2 separate regions of the Homo sapiens genome follow, and region 1 is linked to region 2. Evidence: promoter capture Hi-C in 16 types of primary human blood cells and fetal thymus (Javierre and others, 2016). All regions are on one chromosome and are shown on one strand. The core of a region is centred on a gene start or on the middle of the fragment in contact, and the rest is flanking DNA. Distances in the headings are between cores, read along the strand shown. Region 1 overlaps FBXO38-DT (FBXO38 divergent transcript). Region 2 holds the start of SPINK6 (serine peptidase inhibitor Kazal type 6).

Region 1 (6,195 bases), core at 2,579-5,078, 170 kb before region 2:
GTAAAAATTAAGTCCCCACATACTTTAAATACCCTTTATGGGAATAGTACTGCTCTATTAGAAAATTATTAGGTTAAGCCAAGAGTGACTTGATTGATTTAGATTTGCCTGAGGATTGAACTAGAGCTTCTTAAATGCTTCAAGACTAAAAAATGAGGATTTTTTTTTCTAGATCCCGAGACCAGACTGAGCTTGCTATCTGTAGGGAATAGGGACTGAGAATGGGGAGGGGAATGAAGAATTTCTGTTGAAGGGGAGAAGATACTTATGGTGACAGGAGCCAAGTAGAACCTGACAGTAGGTGATTAATGTATCATCCCTGGTTAAGAAAAGCATAGGAGGAACCTCAGCTGTGGGAAAAAGGGGTATCCTGTTAAACATCAGAGTCATTTGGAGTGCCCTTATCCTACCATTTTCATTATTGTTGGGTGTTTCTTTTGCCAGGATGTTGTCTTTATATAACAGTTCTCAGGGAGCTGCCCTCTACTCTGTACCTTTGAATCCACTGAATAAGATCAGCCACTGTAAGTTATTTTTGGAAGAAAACATATGACTCAATGAATAAATACATACATGAGTAAAATATTTCCTACCCCTTAATTTAAGAGTTCATGACCATCTATTTTCATTTTCTTCATGCCCCTGTGAATTCCTGTGGAGAAGAGAGGAAAGGAGCAACAAGAATGGTATTATTGCTGCCTTCAAGTTTTGCCTTTGTCATACTCTTCCAGCCAAAGACTACTAGGAACACACCTATAGTTGTACAAACAGGGCTTATGATTAACTGCAGCCTGTGAGAACACACACCCCTGGGAGCCATAAGGCATGTCAATAGAAGGGTATTAGAAAGGTCTTATTGTAGGATTTGAGATTGTTAGGTTAATTTGGTGGAAGGCTTAAGGAAAAGAGGCTTTGCTTTGGTTTGAATGCCCTCAGAAAGTGGGAGTAATTATTTAGGAGGAGGGAAGAGTAGCTTAAGGCTAAAGTTGTAATTGGTGAAGAAGCAGCAGTCACATTAGTCTAGATAAGTCGATATTTGGTATTTTGTGACTTTGATAATGTTCATGTTTTGCCTGTGTTTAGTCATGATTATTAAGTGGTATTATCTTAGTCTTGATTTCTTCATAGTCACAGAGTAGTTTGTCAGATGTAAACATTCTATGAAATTGTTTATCTCAAATGGAGAACATGAAGGCCCAGATGTAAGTAGAAGACCAACGTGTTACAATGCTAAGGCAAGCTTCTGCATGCCATGGGTTGTTTTACTCCTTCTCACATTTTATCATATTGTTTAATAATCTTTTGTTTTATTGCTCCCTCACTGGACTGTAAAGTGCATGAGTGCACAAACCTGTTTTGATGACCACTGAAGACTGAGTCTAGACAAGTCTCCCAATCTCATAAGTACTTAAAGAGTATTTAGTGAGTAAGTGACTGAATTGTCCAGTTAGCTGATTAGACTGTGAATTGCCCAATGTCAGGGGTTACTTCCTATTCAGCTCTGTATTTCTAGAACCAAACAGTTCTGATGTATGTAATTAAATATATCTCGAGTCAAAGAGGAACTCTCCATAAGATAAGATTTATTGCTTTTCTTTAAAAAATAAGGTAATATAATGAATTCTACTTTATGAATGAGAGATGATGCTTATTTCAAATGGTTTCATTCATGAAAAACAAAGAAAAATCACTTCATATTCAAGATGCAGGGGACTTTCTGCATTTTCCATGGTATTGAATGTTGAGAGTGAGATTCAAAGCTCTAAGAGAAATTGATATAAATATTTACAAACCATTAAAATGAAATATAATCTTTCTTGACCGGCCTAGTTGCATATTATAATCTCTATATTATATAATAATTTTTTGAAAGGAGAGAGAATGAGCCCAACAGGTTGAGGTTGCAGTGAGCCAAGATCATGCCACTGAACTCCAGCCTGGGTAACAGAGTGAGACCCGATAGATAGATAGATAGATAGATAGATAGATAGATAGATAGATAGATAGATAAATGGAGAGAGAACTTGATTTGTAAACTCCTGGCTTACAAATAGCCCATAGCTACAAAGATTTTCCTCTCCCCTCATTATGCACTTTCACCCTGGAGATGCTTCTGATTTGTAATCATGGCAAAACATTATTAGAGCTTTTAACGAATGTGTAAACCTGTATGTTAAAAAGTAGAGCATGAGGAAATCAATAAATTGATAAGGTACCTTGGGAAAATCTTTTCACTTCTCTGAATCAGAATTACCTTGTTGATAAAATGACCATAATGATGGATACCGACTGAGATAGGCTCTTTTGAGGATCACTTTGGAAATAGGCTGTTTTGAGGATCACTTTGGATATGCTCTATGAACTTCAAGAATACTTATTATTGAGACAAAGACCATAATACAAGAAGCATACGCATTACTGGGGCAAAGACCATAATGGTTAAGAACAGGATAAACTCAGGAGTGTAGAAAACATAAATGAAAAATATCTGTCTTCTTCAGCAGAAATGTAATAACAATACCAAGCAAAATACTAAATTTTATACTAAGTTATAGTCAATGAAATTTTGTGTGCGTGTTTCATGCAAAAGTGGCCTATTTTTTTTTTTAAACAAGGTCTCACTCTGTCACCCAGGCTGGAGTGCAATGCCGCAATCTCAGCCCACTGCAACCTCCACGTCCCAGGTTCAAGCAATTCTTCTGCCTCAGCCTCCCGAGCAGCTGGGATTACAGGCACCTGCCACCATGCCTGGCTTTTTTTTTTTATATACATTTTTAGTAGAGACGGGGTTCCACCATGTTGACCAGGCTGGTCTCAAACCCCTGGCCTCAAGTGATCCTCTCAAAAAGTGGCCCATTTTTAAAAAATTTAACAATAGCCACATAGGAGCTACTGTGAAGTTATAAGGAATATTATTCATCTTCCGTACATACTTCCTATTTGACATTGGGCAAGGCAATCAACTTTGGAGTACTTCATTTTTATATGTAAAAGGAAATATCTCTCCCCTGCCTTCCATGTACTTACAGGGGTCCTGTTTGGGAAAGTACTTTCTAACTGTCGTAAGCTTATAACCATATATTATTTGTAGTAGTAGCTTGAGAATAATAGTATCTTATTTTTTATTTTGTTTTCTCAGCACCTAGCAGAGTGTCTGGAACTTTCTAGGTGTTTATTAAACATTCTTGGGATAAATATAAGAACCTGTTTTGAAAACTCCTAAAATTCTGTCCAAATAAAAGTTTCTAGTCATAAGATAAGATAATAGGAATTTAAACTTGTAGGCTCTGGGAGTCAAATTCCTAGATTTGTTTCTTGGTTTTTCTCCCTATAAGCAATTATATCTTGGGTCCCTAAATCTCTCTAAGTGTCAGTTTCATCATCTATAAAATGAAAGGTAATGCCAATTTCAGCTTTGTAGGATTGTTTCGAATACTGAATGAGATAATTTCTATGTGGTACCAAGGACAGAGCTTGGTATGTAATAAGCACTAAATTGAAATCAGGCCTATTTGTAGGTTTTCAAAAGTTTCCTCATTATTTATTCTCTTAAATATTTTATGTTTCTGAGTATATACAATAAATACATTTTTTAAAGTTTAATCATACAATATGCATCATTTGATACATTTTGTAAACTTAATGTTAGGTCATGATTATTTTTTGAAAAGTTAATAGGTGATGTCTAGTGAAGTTTTTTTTTTTTTAAATCATATAGCGCTAAAAAAGGATGAGCCTATAAGCAAAAAGCCAGAGAGATTTGGTGCACTAAAGTGGATCAACCTTTGACTTCCCCAAGATGCAGAAACACAGTACCAGTTAGAACCCGAGCTGGGGTTTGAAGGATGGAGGGAGGCACATGTACAGTTAGTGTAAAGATACGCTTGTCCCCCTCACTTTGTTATGAACATGACCTGGCCACACATTTGGAATGCCTTGATAATCTTAGAAGAAAGCAACTTCAGGCTAACAGAGATAAGTAGAAAAGTTGAGGAACCAGATCAGTCTTATGCATAAACTCCCTCTGAAATAGTGGGCATGGGAAGCAAAATGGATTTCACAACTGACCTGGAATAAGAAGAAGCTGAGCAGTAGGGTGGAGGTGTAGTAAACATCAGAGAATCATGGACAAGGATATTTAAGTGGCAGCACAACAATGGGAAAAGAAGATCTTACGTAAGAAAACTGTACTTCCCTCGAGTTCCACTATTGTGTCTGGAGATGCTAAGAACTATTTGGAAAATGGAAAGTTTGGAAAATATTGGCTTTCATGCAAATAAAGTTAGTGGGCATTAGAGCATTGATATTTGTAGCATTACCATAGACAGTGACACAATTCCATTTACTAACTCTTTTCCAGAAAGTATTAATTATAGATGTGCTATAATTATGTATTATATTATTAGAAACTAATTATATGTTATTAGATCTTTTTTTGTATTTTACCCTTAGAACTACTGTGCAGAACATATCTATGCATTATTCTTTGACAATACGTTTAATACTTCCTGAGGATAGTACCCAGAATAGCCAAACAGTCTGAAAATGAGCAAATTTTAAGAACCCATACTTCTTGACTTCAAAGCTTACTATGAAAATCTACAATAATCAAGAGAGTGTGGTATTGGCACAAAGATAGACATATAGACCAATAGAATAAAATTGAAAGTTCAGAAATAAATCCTTAAATTTGTGGTCAATTGATTTTCAATGAAGGTTATAAAACAATTAAATGAGGAAAGATAAGTATTTTCAACGAACAGTGCTGGGATAGCTGTGTATTTACATACAAAACAATACAGTTGAATTCCCTGCCTCACACCATATACAAATCTAACTCAACATGAGTCAAAGATCTGAATGTAACGGTTAAAACTTAAAACGTTTGGAAGAAAACAGAGGAGATATTTGTGACCTTGGATTAAGCAATGTTTTCTTAGATATGATGCCAAAAACACAAGCAGCAATAGATAAATTGTACTTTATAAAATTAAAATCTCCTGCACTTCAAAGGACACTGTTAATAAAGTGAAAAGAAACCCACATAATGAGAGAAAATATCCGTAAGTCAACATCCATTAAGGAACTAGTATCCAGAATATATAAAAAACTCTTACAACTTAACAATAAAAAGGTAAATAATCTGAGTAAAATGTGAGCAAAGGATTTGAATAGACATTTCTTCAATGAAGCCTATGAAAAGATATATAACATCATTAAATCTTTTGGGAAATGAAAATCATAACCATGGTTTTCATGATTATGATACCACTTCACACCTATTAGGATGGTTATCATTAAAAAGATGAGCAATAACAAGTGTTGGTAAAGATATGGAAAAATTAGAACTCTCATATACTTTTACTGGGATTGTAAAATGCTGCAGCTGATTTGAAAAACAGTTTGGTAGTTCCTCAGTTAAAGTTTTCATATACCCCAGCAATTTAACTCCTAGGTTTATACCCAAGGTAAATGAATGTTCATAGCAACATTATTCATGCTAGCCAAAAGTGGAAACAACCCAATGTCCATTAATGGATGAATGGATAAATGAAAAGTGATATATCTAAACAGTGAAGTATTATTCAGCCATAAAAAGGCACAAATAACTGATGCATCCTACAACATGGATGAATTTTGAAAATCTATACCAAGTGAAAGAAGACAAAAAAGGCCACATGTTATATGATTCCATTTATATGAATTGTCCATAATAGACAAATCTATAAAGACAAAAAGTAGACTAGTGGTTTCCAGGTACTGGGGTGGGGGAGATGACAGAGGGGTAGAGGTTTCTTTTTAATGAAAATTTTTCTGAAGTTAAACAGCAGTGATGGTTGTACAACTCTCTGTATATATTAAGGACCACTGAATTGTATAGTTTAAGAGAGTACATTTATTATTTATCCTATTAAAATTTAAATCCTAAGAATACATTTTTAGCACTGAGAGTTATTTTTTATTTCCCTGAATCCTTGGGATTGCAGAGAAGGGTAAGACAGTAGATTTGGAGAAAGGATGAAATGTGGTTAGCTAATAAAACATTTGGGAGAAGAAGTAGCAATCATCCATGCAGTTTCTCTCCCTTCTATGGAATCCCTTTGTATGCCGTCGAATTATGACCACAACATGAAGGCCTATCAGATGAGGTTTTGAGATCATTTGGAAGATACTGCTGTACTGGCTAAGGCTGAC
Region 2 (6,315 bases), core at 1,104-3,603:
GTATGTGTAATTTTAGTTTGTGTGACTAATTAGTTCAGTGGTTTAAAATACTTAAATAATAAAATCCCTCAATCCAGTCTTGGAATGGGCTGCTGAGTTTTGATGTGTGGCCATTCCTATGGGACTCCTTTCCCAATCCCTCTGACACATAAGCCCAAGAGCACTGCAATGAGAGAGAGTGTGGGTTAGCGGAATCCATCTCCAATGATGGCCAACACTTATGGGATAACAACCGGAAATTCCTTAAAGCACAATCTCTAATAATAAAGATAAGGAGAAAACAAGCTGTTGTTTTTTAATTTGAAAGAAGGTTACTGTTCATTTTTTCAGCAGTGATTACCAGCCTTATTGATTTATAACTAGCAATATGGGTGATTATTAAAATGACAAATTCTTAGGGCAATCACTTAAAAATTCTATTATATAAAACCAGAGAGTTCCTGGACAGTCCATATTTTTTAAAGACTCTAAGTGGTTTTTATAGCCAGGGATATTTTATTATTAGAATTTTCAGTAAGTCTCCACTGTACAAATCTGTCATCAAAAGAGGAGAGATTTGCCTAATGTCTCATACGTAGGAATTGGCAAGGCAAAAACAGGATTAATATTCACAATGACGGAGTCCAATTTAGTACTCTTTTTATTAAACTTTATTATGGCAATAATGTTAATAGACATTTGTTAAACATGCACTATACCCCATCCACTATGTTAAGCATTGTACATGCCTTTTTCTCATTTAATTCTCCACACAGAGATAGTCCTTTATATGTTTATTTTATATATAAGTGAAATAAACATCAGAGAGTTCACAAAGCTATAAAATGAAAGTGCCAGGGCTAAAATTCACTTTACTCTGTTTCAGCATTAAGGCCCTTAGGCATTATGGCCTCCCAAATACTATCTAGTATGTCTGTGAAGCATCCATGCTTTGGTAAACTGTATTAGTCAACCAGATCCTGTTAAAGATCAATTCACCTTTGTAAAGAGAAGAAAAGGAAATAACAATTGATTTCTGAGACTATCTTTGCAGCTAAACTTTACATAGTCAGATATATATTTTTCTGCCATCTCAGCAACTGATTGAACTACCCATTAAGGTTATTTGGCTTTAGTAGTCAAGCTTACTCCATAATATCACAGGAATCCTTTACCCATTTTTTTTGTATTTCTAAGTGTATTTGTTTTTGTAATTATGACCAGCTACAGTGAACACTGGCTTCTCTATCAGCTAAATCTCATTGATTTTTTTTTTACTTGTACATCCATTTAAAATCTTGCATAGTAGTAAAATTCATCTGCTACTGTCACACAAAATGATACATAAGATATGGAAGGTCCCAGGGCTTAGTTTTATTTCTATTATTTTACAAATGACAAAATATCTCAGAAAATTATGTTATTTCTTTAAGTGACACAGGCCATTAATAGAAGAGATGAAACTAGGTCTTAGGTCTAAAAACTAGCATTTGCTTTGTGCCCTACAACGTGAAAGAGTAGAATAATAAGGAAGAAAATAGCTTATGATGGACCTGCTCATTCCGATGGTTCTGTCTTAAAAAACATAACCTTGAAGTATGATTGTGCTTTGAACCTCACTAAAGTGTCCAAAGATATTCTCCTTCTCTAAGATTATTTAGCTCACCAGAAACATATGTTTCTGCATTCTAAGTTTCAATTACATATTTTCAAAGATTTTTCTCATTGAGTTTCCAATTTCCCCATTGTCTTAATTTAATTATTTGAATGTCTTTGTAATAATAACTAAGGGGAGGAAAATATTTCTTTGTTCTGGAAAGCAAAACCAATATTTAATGCAATTATCCATCCTCCAATCTAGTTTTATGGAACAAACATTAAATGTGATGGCAAGAGAATCTGATTCAAATTCCAGATTCTAACTACTAGTTGCAAGTCTTTTGCTGATTTTCTCAATTTCTCTGTTCCACAGTTTCTTATATGAAGAACAGAGATAGAAATACCTTATTATGAGTCTCAGAGACAATACATAAAATCCCTTCGTACATGCCTAGAATATAGTATATGCTCAACAAATCACAGTAATTTTAATAATTATTACCATAACCATTGTCGTCATCACAATCATTATCATCATTATGATAATCTCTCAGAATTGGTCTTTTACATCAAAATCATTAGGATTTAAAATATGATAAACAACTACTCATCATATCCAGTTCAGTATAAATATGGGATCTTAATTTTAAGAAAAAACTTACCTGTTAAAAAGCAGAAAAGAGCCAGAGAGAGGAGCAGAAACATGCCTGACAGTTTCATTGTGTCAGTTAGCTCACTCAGATCAAGGCTGCTTTGTCCAGCTGAGGTTCTCTGTCAAGACAATTCCCAGAAAGCCCTAAAATACATTCAGACCACATGAGTCCTATGCAGTTTATGCATTTAATGGGGCCTGCCAACACATTAAAAAAATGCTTCATGCTCCCCATCAATCTTAAAAATTGGGACAATTATGTGTGTCGCACCTCAGATCTTATTAATAGAGAATGTCATTTTCTACTGGTAGCCTACATTTTCCTAACAACCAATACATCCTCCCGGCTCTTCTTTCTAAAGTTTCACTACATTATAGGGATGATTCACTGGTTGACTTCCACTTGATTCTTATATTTCTTTCAGACAGGTCCTACATGTCTGTGGTCCAAGTGAGTAACCACAGGATAATGGAATCTTGGGTGTAACTTGGATTTTTAGAGTCCAGATCATCCAAGGTGTACCTAAAGGAGACAGATATTCCACACTGTAGCTAGAACTGCATTAGAAGAAGCATTTTCTGAGCAGGAATCAGCTTATTAATTTTTAAATCATTATAGCAGTCAAATGCCAGTGGTTGTCCAGTTTTGAGTCAAAATAAATAGGGAAGTCAATTATTTTCTTTAATTTGTAACAAAAATTTGTTTTTTAAAGTTACTGAATTTAATTTTCTTTTTTTTTTTTCTTTCTTTTTTTTTTTTTTTTTTGAGATGGAGTCTTTCTCTGTTGCCCAGGCTGGAGTGCAGTGGTGCAATCTTAGCTTACTGCAGTCTCTGCCTCCCGGGTTCAAGCGATTCTCCTGCCTCAGCCTCCCGAGTAGCTGGGACTACAGGTGCCTGCCACCATGCCTGGCTAATTTTTGTATTCTTAGTAGAGACGGGGTTTCACCATGTTGGCCAGGCTGGTCTCAAACTCCTGACCTCATGATCCGCCTGCCTCGGCCTTCCAAAGTGCTGGGATTATAGGCGTGAACCACTGTGCCTGGCCTGAATTGAATTTTTGAAATGAGCAATATATTTCCTTTTACTTTTCATATAAAAGTTAGATGAATCACATTATCTTTCATGGCCAATTTAATTGCAAGATAGATCAAAGAGTGCGATGCCACAACCTTCTTTCAGGAAACAGCAACAAAAAAGAATGGTTGTAGTGATAACAAGAACGTCTACCTCAAATCATAAACTGCTATTGAAAATATCATGAGGGAAATCATCTTAAAGTCCTTTACAGAAAGATGTAGGTCAGATGTTAAAAGTATTCAAAGACACTACTGAAAAACCTTAAAAACTATATTTAAAATTTTCTTGAATCCTTTATGGGAAGAGGAGTCAAAATAGCTAGAAAAACAAAATATATGGGAAATTGCTTAAGTCATGAAATTTAAAAACAACAGTTGTACAATTTACCCATTTGTGATCTTTAAGTATGTTTTCTCATTCATATGAGATAATATAAAGATCAGTTCCTAAAACTAAAGCATTGCATAGCATGGTTTTAGGTACTGCTGTGACCTTCCTCCCTCTTTCCATTCTACTTCCTATGTTTCTTCCTTCTTTGACCACCTTTTTTTCCCTCCTTCTGTGACTAGAATGTACAGAATTAGTCTAATAATAATCATGTCCAAAAGTGACAAAAGTTTGAAAGCATAAACAAATAGTAATAAAAAAAATCAACATAACAGTGGTAGTCGATCATATGCCATCATTAAATTCACGGTGATGTTTCTAAACTTCCTGTTTAAACTTCTTCCTCTCTCCCCAGAGTTTCATTTTTGGTCCTTGCTTCTCATATTCACCTCTACACTCTCAGTCACTGTTCACCTAAATATTACCATCTCCCTATCTTCCAGTCTTTCCTTCCCTGCTTTCCTCTGATCTTCAAGAGTTCTTTTTTAATAGGTGATTTTTTAATAGAATTATTCTTATTTAGAATGACTCTGTCCTCTTTTTCAGAATGTTTTCAATTCTCTATCCTCAACATTTACACTACCTACCACAAAAACGCTTAGGAACATGAAAGCACATATTAAGTATTGGCTCTGGATAGACATAGGGAAGGAAATATTATATCATAAATATATATAGTTTAAGAAAGAATCTGGTCCCTAATGATTGAATTATCCTTTTTCTTAGGTTTCTGAGGCCATATGAAAGTTTTTGGTTTTGTTTTAATACAACCTAAAGGAAAAGGTAAGAAACATTCTCTGGGAAATCACTTAATTGGCTCTTTAAATAAGAAGGTGAAATACTAGAAGTTAATAAATTAAAGGCAATTATTCACAGACTACATAAAATTATAGTCGTTTGGCTGCATAGCAAGTAAAAGACAGTAGTTTGAACTTTGTTTTAATTAATTCCCTGAAGAAAAATAGGAAAAGTTTTAAAAATCTTAACATTAAAGAATAAGTAAATGTCAATATACTGAATCAGGCAAAAGCAAAAAAGAAACAAAAAATAAAAGAAAGGGAGATGTGGGAGAATGCAGTAGAAGCAATGACTCTTATATAGACATACTAGAATGCAGTCCCAACATACGTACAGTGGTCTTCCAAAATATAGCTATGCATACATTTTTATGTAAAGACACAAACCCTGTAAGAATATATTTTCAATGTAAAATTTATTATATAAACATTATACATTTATTAAAAAATTACTATTCATGGTAGCATATAAAATCATCTGCATTTCATTTAATACACATGCAAGAGAATTTAAGGTAAATTTTAATTCTGTCATTTTTTGCTGCCAACTATATATATAATATTATTTCATTTATTGAAATGCAGCTTCATTGCTTTCAGAATGCTTAGCTCTGAATCCAAGGAGATACATATATCTGTGCCTGTGTGTTTTCACATTTTACTTGTTCATATACATTTTCCTTTTCCCACCATTGCTTATATATATTGTAAAATGTATTATTTTGAAATGTCATTTCTCAGACAGCTATGTACTCTATTTTCTCTCAAACCCCTGAACCCTTCCACCATTTAGCATAGGGCATGAAATAGAGGCTTTTTTTGTTAAATAAAAAAAGGACAGCCACCACTTTAATCCAAGAAAGCATTAATCAAGGAAGTCAGTCCTTGCCATTGAATTATAAAGTGATCTTTGTTAACATCCTTAGCTGTACAATAGACTAAAGTCAAGCATTTTTCATTTGCAACTATCCAATCTTTATTCAGAGTGAAGATTGTTTTTCTTAGAACTTCCATTGGACCACTTAGGAAAAGAGGAGAACTGTTTCCTAGGACTAAGAGGAGGGGTTCGGGAAGAGAAGAAAAAGGGGGTTTTCGAGCTTAGACTTCATCGTCCTGGTTTAGTTCAAATTCCTTGGCTGTTGGAGGCATCTAAAGCATTAGTCAGCATATCATGGGTAAAACAGAGTGGGCAGTATCGAGGAAGATATCCAAGTATTTGGACTTTATAGCAGTCTTACAGGAGTCTGTCATGTTGCAATGAAGATCAGAAAAAGCAGCTGAAATCCATAGTCCCCAAGATAGCCAAGTGCTGGGAGGGCTCAAGAACAAGAAGGGTTTTTATTTCAGAACAAGGGACTTTGAGTTAAGAGACATTACAATTGATAGCTTGATGGGGGGAATCATATAACTCAGAAGAGTATGATAACACATGAAACAGATAACAGGGAGCTGGGTAATGGAGAACCAGGCCCTCTATGATACAGTGACCATAGGAGTTTTATTACACTGCAAAAATTCCTGGAGAGATAAAAGTCAATATCTAGGGACCAACTGGTAAGAAATACCTCACCAGGTGCCAATGTCATGTAAATGTCATGAAGTTATGTAAGCTTTGTCCTGGATTCAAATGTTATATTTGGGGGGAAAAAAGGGAATAAAAAGGGAGAACCAGAGAGACACACTAAATTTGTAAAATGTGAGTGCTTAGTGGGAAAGATTTTTTTTTCATTGTGGTATCTGTTGTACTTTCAACCATGCTTAGCAATTAATAGCCATTCAGAAAATCTTTGTTGAATGACTGAGATTGAAATACCTTTAATTAA

The links. The method cuts DNA at HindIII sites, captures the fragments that hold promoters and counts their contacts. A CHiCAGO score of 5 or more calls a contact.
Region 1: a fragment that was not itself captured here is called in contact with the fragment with the promoter of SPINK6 in region 2 in 2 of 17 cell types (monocytes and endothelial precursors); the score reaches 7.9 in monocytes.

What each region holds. Positions count from the first base shown.
Region 1 is chr5:148,367,645-148,373,839 of GRCh38, reverse strand. The region is part of intron 2 of FBXO38-DT (FBXO38 divergent transcript); the gene reads left to right. Among named protein-coding and RNA genes, the nearest start is that of FBXO38-DT, 13 kb to the left of the region's middle. The HindIII fragment of the contact is 1,518 bases long and covers 3,070-4,587 here.
Region 2 is chr5:148,199,080-148,205,394 of GRCh38, reverse strand. It overlaps SPINK6 (serine peptidase inhibitor Kazal type 6), which reads right to left and starts at 2,353. Exons shown (of 4, transcript NM_205841.4): 1 at 2,241-2,353. The coding sequence starts at 2,298. The HindIII fragment of the contact is 4,979 bases long and covers 1,126-6,104 here.